2 separate regions of the Homo sapiens genome follow, and region 2 is linked to region 1. Evidence: promoter capture Hi-C in 16 types of primary human blood cells and fetal thymus (Javierre and others, 2016). All regions are on one chromosome and are shown on one strand. The core of a region is centred on a gene start or on the middle of the fragment in contact, and the rest is flanking DNA. Distances in the headings are between cores, read along the strand shown.

Region 1 (4,480 bases), core at 1-2,500:
CCCTGTCTCTACTAAAAATACAAAAATTAGCTGGGCATGCCCACTACTCGGGAGGCTGAGGCAGGATAATCACTTGAACCCAGGAGGCGGAAGTTGCGGTGAGCGGAGATCGCGCCACTGCACTCTAGCATGGACAATAGAGCGAGACTCTGTTTCAATAAATAAATAAATAATGCCAGTTGCAACTCACTAAATTGATTTCATAGCCCACTAATAGATCACAATCCGGTTTGAAAAGCAGTTAAGCTAGTCATCTCATTTTTAGACCAGCCCAGGTAGGTGCTAATGGTTATGCAGCAAATTAGTGACAGAGTCCAAGCTAAAACTCAGTTCTCAGAAGTCCAGATGATTAGTCCTTCCACTTAGAACAGTACTGTCTCCGATTGTGTAGCAAGATATGACACGGAGAATTCTAAAATTTACAAGTGAGAGGGACTCCGTAGATCAAACAGGTGATCCATTATTTTTTAAAGCAGCAGAACTCTTTAAACTCTAGAAGCAACCACAAAATATGTTTTAAAGATGAGAGTGGAGAGCAGGCTCTGAGCCTGAGGCGCCTTGTTGAACCTCTGCCAATGTTTCAGAACTAGGGTTCAATCCTTACGATTTGGGACCATGCAAAGCCTGTTAAATCACCGGACGGGCAAAACGCAATTTCCTACGCATTTCTGTGCTGCTCCCCCACACCCCTGAGCTCGCATGGGAGGGTAGGTGAAAAAGTTAAGGTCCTGGAACCAAGTGGAGGAATGAGTCACGGGGATTATCAGTTCCACGAGCCACGGGGATTACAAGTGGCAGGGCGGGTGCCAACACCTTGCAAACCAAGGACAATGACCACACCCTTGGGACTACTATTCCCGGGGCCTACTAGGGCAAAGGCTATCGACAGTGTTGCACACTAAAGCGGGGCTCCTCCACGTGCAAGGAAGCCCTCCTAGTACTTTACATATGGGGAAACTAAGGCCCACGTCTGGTAGCGGCTGCCTTGGCAAAATGAGAACCCAAATCTGTGAGAAAGCCTCGAGTGCAGCCCCGGACCCCAGGGTCCCTCCTGCTACCTTGTTTGAGAACCTTCTTCCTGGCCTCCTTGTCAGTTACCAGGGGCGCTGGGGGCCGTTTGACATCTTCGGAGAAAGGATTCGGGGAGCTGCCAGAGAATAGTCCCAAGTAAACTTTGCAGAGGACGGCCAGCAGCAGCACAGCCAGGAGCAGCACCAGCGGAAGCCACATCACGCCGGCGTCGGGTCGGGTAAATGGGACAGCTCCGACTGCGCTCAGCCTCTAGGACTGTGGCTCCGCCCGGGCTAGTTCGCTCTCCAGTCAGGAGGCGGAGGCAGCTTTGAGCACTGATTAACCAGCCAGCCAGCGAAGAGCCAACTCTCAGGTGATGATTGACCCTCCCGGCTCTCCGTACTTCTTTTGGGTTTCCATTGCCTACTGGGAAATGTAGTTCTCGGGGCCAGGGGAGCCGGCACGGAAGCGGCTGTGCGCATGAGCAGATGAGGCCTAGCCGAGGCGGCGGGACCCCCAAGTTTGGAAAGCTCTTTTAACGGTGAGAACGCGTTAACACTTGCCAAGGGGAGTGGTTGGTGCCTGTGCGGAGCTAGCAGCCGGCCTGAGGAGGGAGGGAGAATGTGATCCGGTGGAAATTATCACTATGGGGCGAGACAAGGCCGAGAGTTGTAAGACTGAAAGAGAATCCCGACTGGGAGACAGGAGTCCTGAGTTCTGGTCCTGGCTCTGCCCTGGACTCGCTGCCTTGAGGTGTTAAATTGCTTTCCTCGTCTTACGCCTCCAGGCTATGCGAAAGTTCTGTCCAAAGGCTGCTCACAGCCCCTGTCTGACTGGTTGTCATGATGAATTGAGCTCTCTGTTACCTGCGCATCACAACCGGTGAGCGTCTGTCTCTGTGCCCCTCAAAGTGGCCCATAGTTTTGTCCTGGGGGCCCGCCTGGGACGGAGTCCTCTATGGCGGGTCCCTAATGACACCCCATCCGTGGGGAACCTGGGGGACGGGGAGCCGCCCATGGACAAGCATGGTGAAAGGATCAGCTAAGGGCCCATCTAATTTAAATTCCTATGCAGAGAATCTAACCTCCAGCAAGCAGTTGAAGAATCATACCCCCTCCTTGCCTAAAGAGGGTGCATAATGAATACTTGATTGGAGAAGGATCCATTTTTACAGGAAGGCCGTTTCCTTAGGTCCAACTATCAGGAATTTGCCTTTGAGTACTTCCTTGTTTAATGGAATTGTTGCTCTTTTCTTCTCTGCTACAGATAGTAACTGTCCCTACTGAAGGCCCCAGGAGTGCTCCAGCCAGGTGTGGAAAGCTGGTCACGATTCTATGCTACTTGGTTCATTTTCTACACAGCAACAGAAGAGCCCTCCTGAGATTGCTATTACCATACCCGCCTGTCACCTTGCCAAGGCTGGCCAATGTGTGTTTTGTCATAGGCTGTCATGGAGGCCATGATGGAGGAAAAGGAAAGGGGAGGCAGATGTTGAGGCCCCAGAGGCCACAGTGAGAGCAGTTTAGTTCCTGGGGTGCCAGGACTAAGGGGGCATTGCCCTGTCCCCCGGATTACAGTGAGCCACATGTCAAGCCCAAGAGCCAGGAGGTATTCTTCCTCTCAGTGTTAATAATCAAAGCATCCTGACACCAGCAGCCAGTTTTTATGGCATCCTGGAGGGCTGACCTCATAGAGAGGCTACCCTCCTTCCTTAGTCACCCAAAGTTGTGAACTATGATTGTCAGTTGTGTGTGGGCCATCTGCCCACTTAGGATGCAATTTTTGATGTGACAGACATTCCGGATGTCCAATTCCCCTGTGATGAGGTATGAGCCTTGTCCAGCCCTTTTCCTGAGGGAAGCAATGTCAGATGAAAGACTTAGAATTGCCCAAACTGGCTAGCCAGCTGCCACATGCACAGTATTGCTGATAACTGAGAAAGGTTAGAACATCGTGTTGCATTTTGAATTTCTACCATTGTTGGAACCAGGTCTAGTATTATAAGCCCCTGACCCAGCCTGTGTGTGAGGCCTAAACAAAGCCTGAGCACTTCAGCTAAGACCACCCACCAAGGTGACACCTTTAGCCTCACGCCTTTGATAAGCTGGCCCAGGTCCCAGTAACTCCATTGTCAGAAACAGACCCCATCCCTTCTAGTGGTGCTGCTGCCTTTTGGACACAGAATCCAGCTCACAGTCCCCTGTGTGGTCCCCTTTTGGCCATCCTGTGGCTTGGGTAGTAAGAGGTAAGCATTTGGCTGAGGCAAGTTGTTCATTCAGAATAAATTCACAGCTGCTTAAATTTTGTCAACAGGCCGAGCGTGTTGGCTCATGCCTGTAATCCCAGCACTTTGGAAGGCCGAGGCAGGCGGATCACGAGGTCAGGAGTTCAAGACCAGCCTAACCAACATAGTGAAACCCCATCTCTACTAAAAATACAAAAATTAGCAGGGTGTGGTGGCGCACGCCTGTAATTCCAGCTACTCGGGAGACTGGGACAGGAGAATCGCTTGAACCCGGGAGGCGGAGGTTGCAGTGAGCCGAGATCGCACGGCTGCACTCCAGCCTGGGCAACAGGGCAAGACTCCAACTCAAAAAAAAAAAAAAATTGTCAACAGAGGCATAACTGAATGGTGAAACCAGTTTTCTTTTTCAATTTCTTTTTTTTCTTTTGTGCAGAGCTGAGGCTTCGAAGACCTCAGAGGACTTCTCTCAGCACTCACAGAAACCTCCTACACCCTCGGATGGCACAAAGGGACTGTTTTCTTACTCTTAGTCTGAGTGACTGCCAAGGAAGGCAAAGGTAGAGCAACTGGATCTCTGGCTCTCCACATAGCTTCTGATCTCAGACCTTACTAAAATGCTTTCTGGGCCCAAGGACAAAGCTCACATGAACAAATGATTTTGAGTCATGAATGAAAAATCTTGCTCTTTCCATAGTAAAGAAGAATTAAGAGATGGACAGGTAAGCATGCACTCTTATTTGGGAAAGGTGGTGTTGGTTTGAGATATATCATTAAGTATAGTAAGAATATATTAAGAGAATATTTGGAAAAATTTAGAAACCCTCATTATAGTTCTCTTTGTTCTGTAAGAAGGAGCTTCTATTCACCTCAGGGTCAATTGCTTTTCCTAATAGCTTGTTTTGTAAGTGAGTTATGAGATTTTTGTTTTCTTTTTGCTTGGGTAGTGGGGAGAATTTCATTGAGGAATCACCCAAGAAATCTGTATTTCATTGATTTGGATCATTACCTTACTAGCCTCTTCCCTGTGAAACGCTTGCTTTGGCCTGATCATCCTCAGGACTCAGTTCAATGTGATATGTCTTTGTATGAGCCGGGCAGCTAACCCTACATGCCTTACCTTTCACACTACTTTGCCCACCCAAAAATGGTCTTAAATGGAGGCTGTGGGATTCAGTGGCCAGACTGGGACAAAGCCTTTGCTTTGGGTCTCCAGAAAGATTTTCT
Region 2 (4,629 bases), core at 1,564-4,063, 830 kb after region 1:
AAGTACACCTGTCCCCATATAACTAGTCTATCCTTACATAAAAACAAATGATCAGGGCTATATGGCTTGTGATTGGTTTTAATAAGAGTAAAATACACCTAAATATTTCTTAATAATAAATATGTGGATCTCCTAAATTAAGCAAATGAACAAGCATCTAAATACTATTGGGGAAGGTTTTCATAAACTTTAAACCATTCATACCTATTAATTTGAAAATTTACACTTATCAAATCCATAAAAGTATCTTTTTAAAAAATACTAGGAAAAATCAAACTGCAACAAGAGGAAAAATGCTTTTTCTAGGTTCTTTAATGAAATTGTATTTAACGAATATCAGAATAACACAAACTTCCTTTTAAAAGTATCTATAGTTTTAGGAAAATCTATCACATGATCATAGGACACATGAAATTACTCTAGTTATAATTTACACTCTACTGGCCAAAGCCTAGAGGTAAACAGCTAACTAATGCAGTCATACATTTTGAAAAACAAAAAAACAAATCAGATGTTTTAAAATATGTAAAGCAGATACAACTGGTATTAAAAAGTATTTCAATTATTGACATGGTGGCTCATGCCTGTAATCCCAGCACTTTGGGAGGCTGGCGAGGGTGAGCGGCGCAGGCGGGGATTGCTTGAGCCCAGGACGTCAGAACCAGCCTTGGCAACATGGCAAAACTCCATCTCTACTACAAATACAAAAATTAGCCAGGTTTGGTGGCATGTGCCTATAGTCCCAGATACTTGGGAGGCTGAGGCATGAGAATCACTTGAGCTTGAGCCCCGGAGGTGGAGGTTGCAATGAGCCAAGACTGTGTCACTCCACTCCAGCCTGGGCAATAGAATGAGACCCTGTCTCCTCCACTCCCCTTAAAAAAAAAAACAAAAACAAAAACAAAAAATACCAAACAAACAAAAAAAACCCAGTATTTCAATTATTACCTACCCTGTAGAATTCCCAACATTTTTGAACCATTTTTAATAGAAAAGGGTGTTTTCCTTCTATTCTGTAAAGTAGTATGAAATTGTAAACAGAAATGCATCTATTTTTATATGTCAACAATTCCATTTTTGTGACTTAGGGAGAAAATATTAAGAGGCCACTGAAGTTGTATTATATTTAAGGTTGCATTTTTTATCTGTCTAGGTATAAATAGGTATTCAGGTAAAAAGTTAAGGCACTGTCAACAGTGGATAATTAGCTAACTGGAGTATCAAGCAGCAAGCACAATGGATAACTGACTCCAGGAAATCAGGGACAAATTTAATACTAGAGTTTCAGACTACCCAAAGTCACATCAGTTTTTCTTTAAATAATTTTTTTTGTTGTTTGTAGAGACCAGGTCTTGCTATGTTGACCAGGCTGGTCTCGAACTCCTGGTCTCAACCTATTCTCCTGCCACGGCCTCCCAAAGTGTTGGAATTACAGGCATGAACAACCACGCCCAGCATCAGTATTTTTAAATGTTTCTTTATCTACCTTCTATTTTCTTTTATCTTGACTCTCCATCCTCCCTTTGACAGAATGTGTTTTGACTATAAGTTAAAAGCTCCTAATACTAAATAAATTTAAAATCTGAGGTTTTAAATAATAATTTTAAAAGTTTAAATATGCATAGAGTAAAATCTTCCTCATACTTCTTTCCCCAGCCACCCCATGCTTGCCATAGGCAACTGACACTGTCAGTTTCTTATTTATCCAGAGACATTTTATGTATATTTATTCAAATGTGCATATTCTCCTGACTTTCCCCACCTTTACACAAATGATACCATAATATACACGCAATTCTCTATTAAAGTTCAAGGATATATATTTTAAATCACTGTATATCAGTACGTGAAAAGCTTCCCAAGGGATTTCATGATTTGGTATTCCATTGTTACTTAATGTTTAATTGTTAACCAGCCCCTATTGAGGGACACTGAGGTTTTTTCTAAATTTTTGTTAAAATAAATAATGCTACCTGAGTAACACTGTATACACAATTTTGGGTCTATTCTTAAAAGTAAAATTTGCCACGTTGATTAATACTGCCAAATTAGCCAAACTGCCCTCTAGTAATATGAAAGTATGTTTTCCCACATTTTCTCCAACACACTGTATTGTATCATTTTTTTTTCATCATTGACAATCTGAGGGGTGAAAATACAGAAATAGAGTGTTTCAAGCATATAAATAATTTTTTTTTTAAGAGACTGAGTCTTGCTCTGTTGCCAAGGTTGTGGAATGCAGTGGTATGATCATAGCTCACTGTAACCTCTAACTCCTGGGCTCAAGTGATCCTCCAGCCTCAGCCCCCTGAGTAGCTGGGACTACAGGCACATGCCCACCATACCCAGCTAATATTTTTGTTCTTGTTTTTTATAGAGCCAGGTCTGCTATGTTACCCAAGCTAGTTTTGAACTCATGGCCTCAAGCAATCCTCCTACCTTGGCCTCTCAAAGCACTGAGTAATTTTTATTTACATAATTTATATATTAATACGTTTGTTATTGTTAATATAATAATTATAATTACACTGCTATTTAATACCACTAAGTTTAGGGTGGTCTGTTACACAGCTACAGATAACCAAACATATGTTTATACCTAGAAGAGGGGTGCTACTGCAACAAAACATAAACACGAGGTCATGACTTTGGGACTGGTGTTGGGGGCGGCAGAAGCTGAAGAACCTTGAAGAGACTGTGAGCAGAAGCCTAATGGCCTTCCAGAGCCTGTTGGTGAGGGCTTAAAGAAAAGCAAAAAAAAAAAAAAATTTTGGAACCTGGAGGAAAAGATATTCTTGTTATGTAGTGACAGAAGTTTATCAAAACTGTCATCTGTAATGACAGACATGGAAAATAGAAAATTAAGTATAGCTGTAGCTACACCTAATGAACTGACGTACTTGGCTAAAGAGTTCCAAGTAGGCCAGGCGCGATGGCTTACGCCTGTAATCCCAGCACTTTGGGAGGCCGAAGCGGGCGGATCACAAGGTCAGGAGATTGAGACCATCCTGCTGAACATGGTGAAACCCCGTCTCTACTAAAAATACAGAAAATTAGCCGGGCGTGGCAGTGTGCGCCTGTAGTCCCAGCTACTCGGGAGGCTGAGGCAGCATGAACCCGGGAGGCAGAGCTTGCAGTGAGCCGAGATTGCGCCAGCCTGGGTGACAGAGCCAGACTCTGTCTTAAAAAAAAAAAAACAAAAGAGTTCCAAGTATAGTGTTCATCACAAGCGCTAACTGGTTTCTTTTAGCTGAGTATGATAAGGACAGAGATAAGCATTAAAAAACAAAACAAAAACCTGTTTTGCTTTCAAGCAAAATTTAAAGGAAATATAAAAGAGTCAGGATTTGGTGGGTTCAAAAATAAAACTGCTTATTGTTTTCAAATAGATTCTCAAATAGAGAAGGGCTTCAAGCCAAAGATCAAATCTAGTGTGTGACCAAAAGATACTTTGAGATCTCAAAAAGATCTAAGGAGGTGCCCCTCAGAGAGTCTTTTTACCTTGAGGAAAAGGCCCTCTAAGAATCATAAGGATGTGTTTCCCAGATTCTATTGAATCAATAAGGTTACTCAGAACATTAAAGGTGTTACCTACAGCAGCCTCACAGGAAGCCCAAAATGGAGAAGGGCTTATCTTGATAAGATGTGTATCATGCATCTAATGAAGAAAATCCCATTAAGATTCACAGGAAACCCACAAACTTGTTGAGAATTGTGTCAATAAAAAACATGCTGGCTTATATTTAAAGTGAAAAAGAGGACAAAATGAAAAGAAGCTTCTAGACAAACTTCTACAGACAGGAAGTAGGCTGTGAAACAATTCAGCTGTAACAGACAACATATTCTGGAAACGGAAGAATAATTCAAGTGTAAAACCAGGAGCCCAAAGGGTAGAACCAAGAGCTGAGGAGAATCATTCCCAAGCAGTAGGACTGAGCTCTCATCAAGGAATTAGAAACATAGGGCCAGCTGAATTTTACACTTGTTATGGAATGGTGACTGCTGTGTGCCTCTTAGTTTCTGCCTTTTTGAATAGGAGTGTCTAGAGTGATTATCCTGTGTCTGTCATACCACCATATGCTGAATGTATGGGGAGCAGATAATTTGTCTCTTTAGTTTACAGGGCTTTAGATCACCAAAAAAAGTGTTTAAGAAGCTATACCCTAGGGACCACATTCAAGATGTCTTATCCATAGTAGGATCTGATTCAGATGACAAGATCTTGTTCCTAATGCTGATGCTTTGATGGCATTAGACTCTGGAGAGTCTTGGAGAAGGTTGTGAGTGGGAGGGATGTGCATGTGGGAGGGATGTCAGTTGGGTCCAGAAGGCTGAGGATAATATCCAAAATTGACTGCAACAATACTTCCTATACCACATGCTGTTCCAGAAACGTGCCCCTCTCCCAACAATAATAAGTTTTATGTACACTTCCCTTAAACAAGGGCAGGCCTTTGTTACTAATTCACTAATAGAAGGCAGTGAAAGTGATGCTCTGTAACTCCTGAGACTAAGACATAAAAAGGATACAGCTTCTACCTAGCTCTGCCTCTTGTCACACTTGCCCTTGGAACCCAGCCACCAAAGTGTATGGAAGTCCAGACACTTAAAGATGCCACAGATGGGTGA

The links. Contacts are between HindIII fragments. The CHiCAGO score rates a contact against its expected background, and 5 or more counts as called.
Region 2: a fragment that was not itself captured here is called in contact with the fragment with the promoter of RETSAT in region 1 in 1 of 17 cell types (monocytes); the score reaches 5.6 in monocytes.

What each region holds. Positions count from the first base shown.
Region 1 is chr2:85,353,278-85,357,757 of GRCh38, forward strand. RETSAT (retinol saturase) reads right to left here and starts at 1,251. Exons shown (of 11, transcript NM_017750.4): 1 at 1,059-1,251. The coding sequence starts at 1,230. ELMOD3 (ELMO domain containing 3) reads left to right here and starts at 1,492. Exons shown (of 14, transcript NM_001135022.2): 1 at 1,492-1,552; 2 at 1,799-1,893; 3 at 2,278-2,321; 4 at 3,690-3,975. The coding sequence starts at 3,922. RefSeq lists enhancers at 1,253-1,754, 1,319-1,718, 1,755-2,254, 1,889-1,948. The HindIII fragment of the contact is 19,367 bases long and covers 1-4,480 here.
Region 2 is chr2:86,181,986-86,186,614 of GRCh38, forward strand. All of the region lies in intron 1 of IMMT (inner membrane mitochondrial protein), which reads right to left. Among named protein-coding and RNA genes, the nearest start is that of MIR4779, 8.8 kb to the right of the region's middle. The HindIII fragment of the contact is 1,922 bases long and covers 1,853-3,774 here.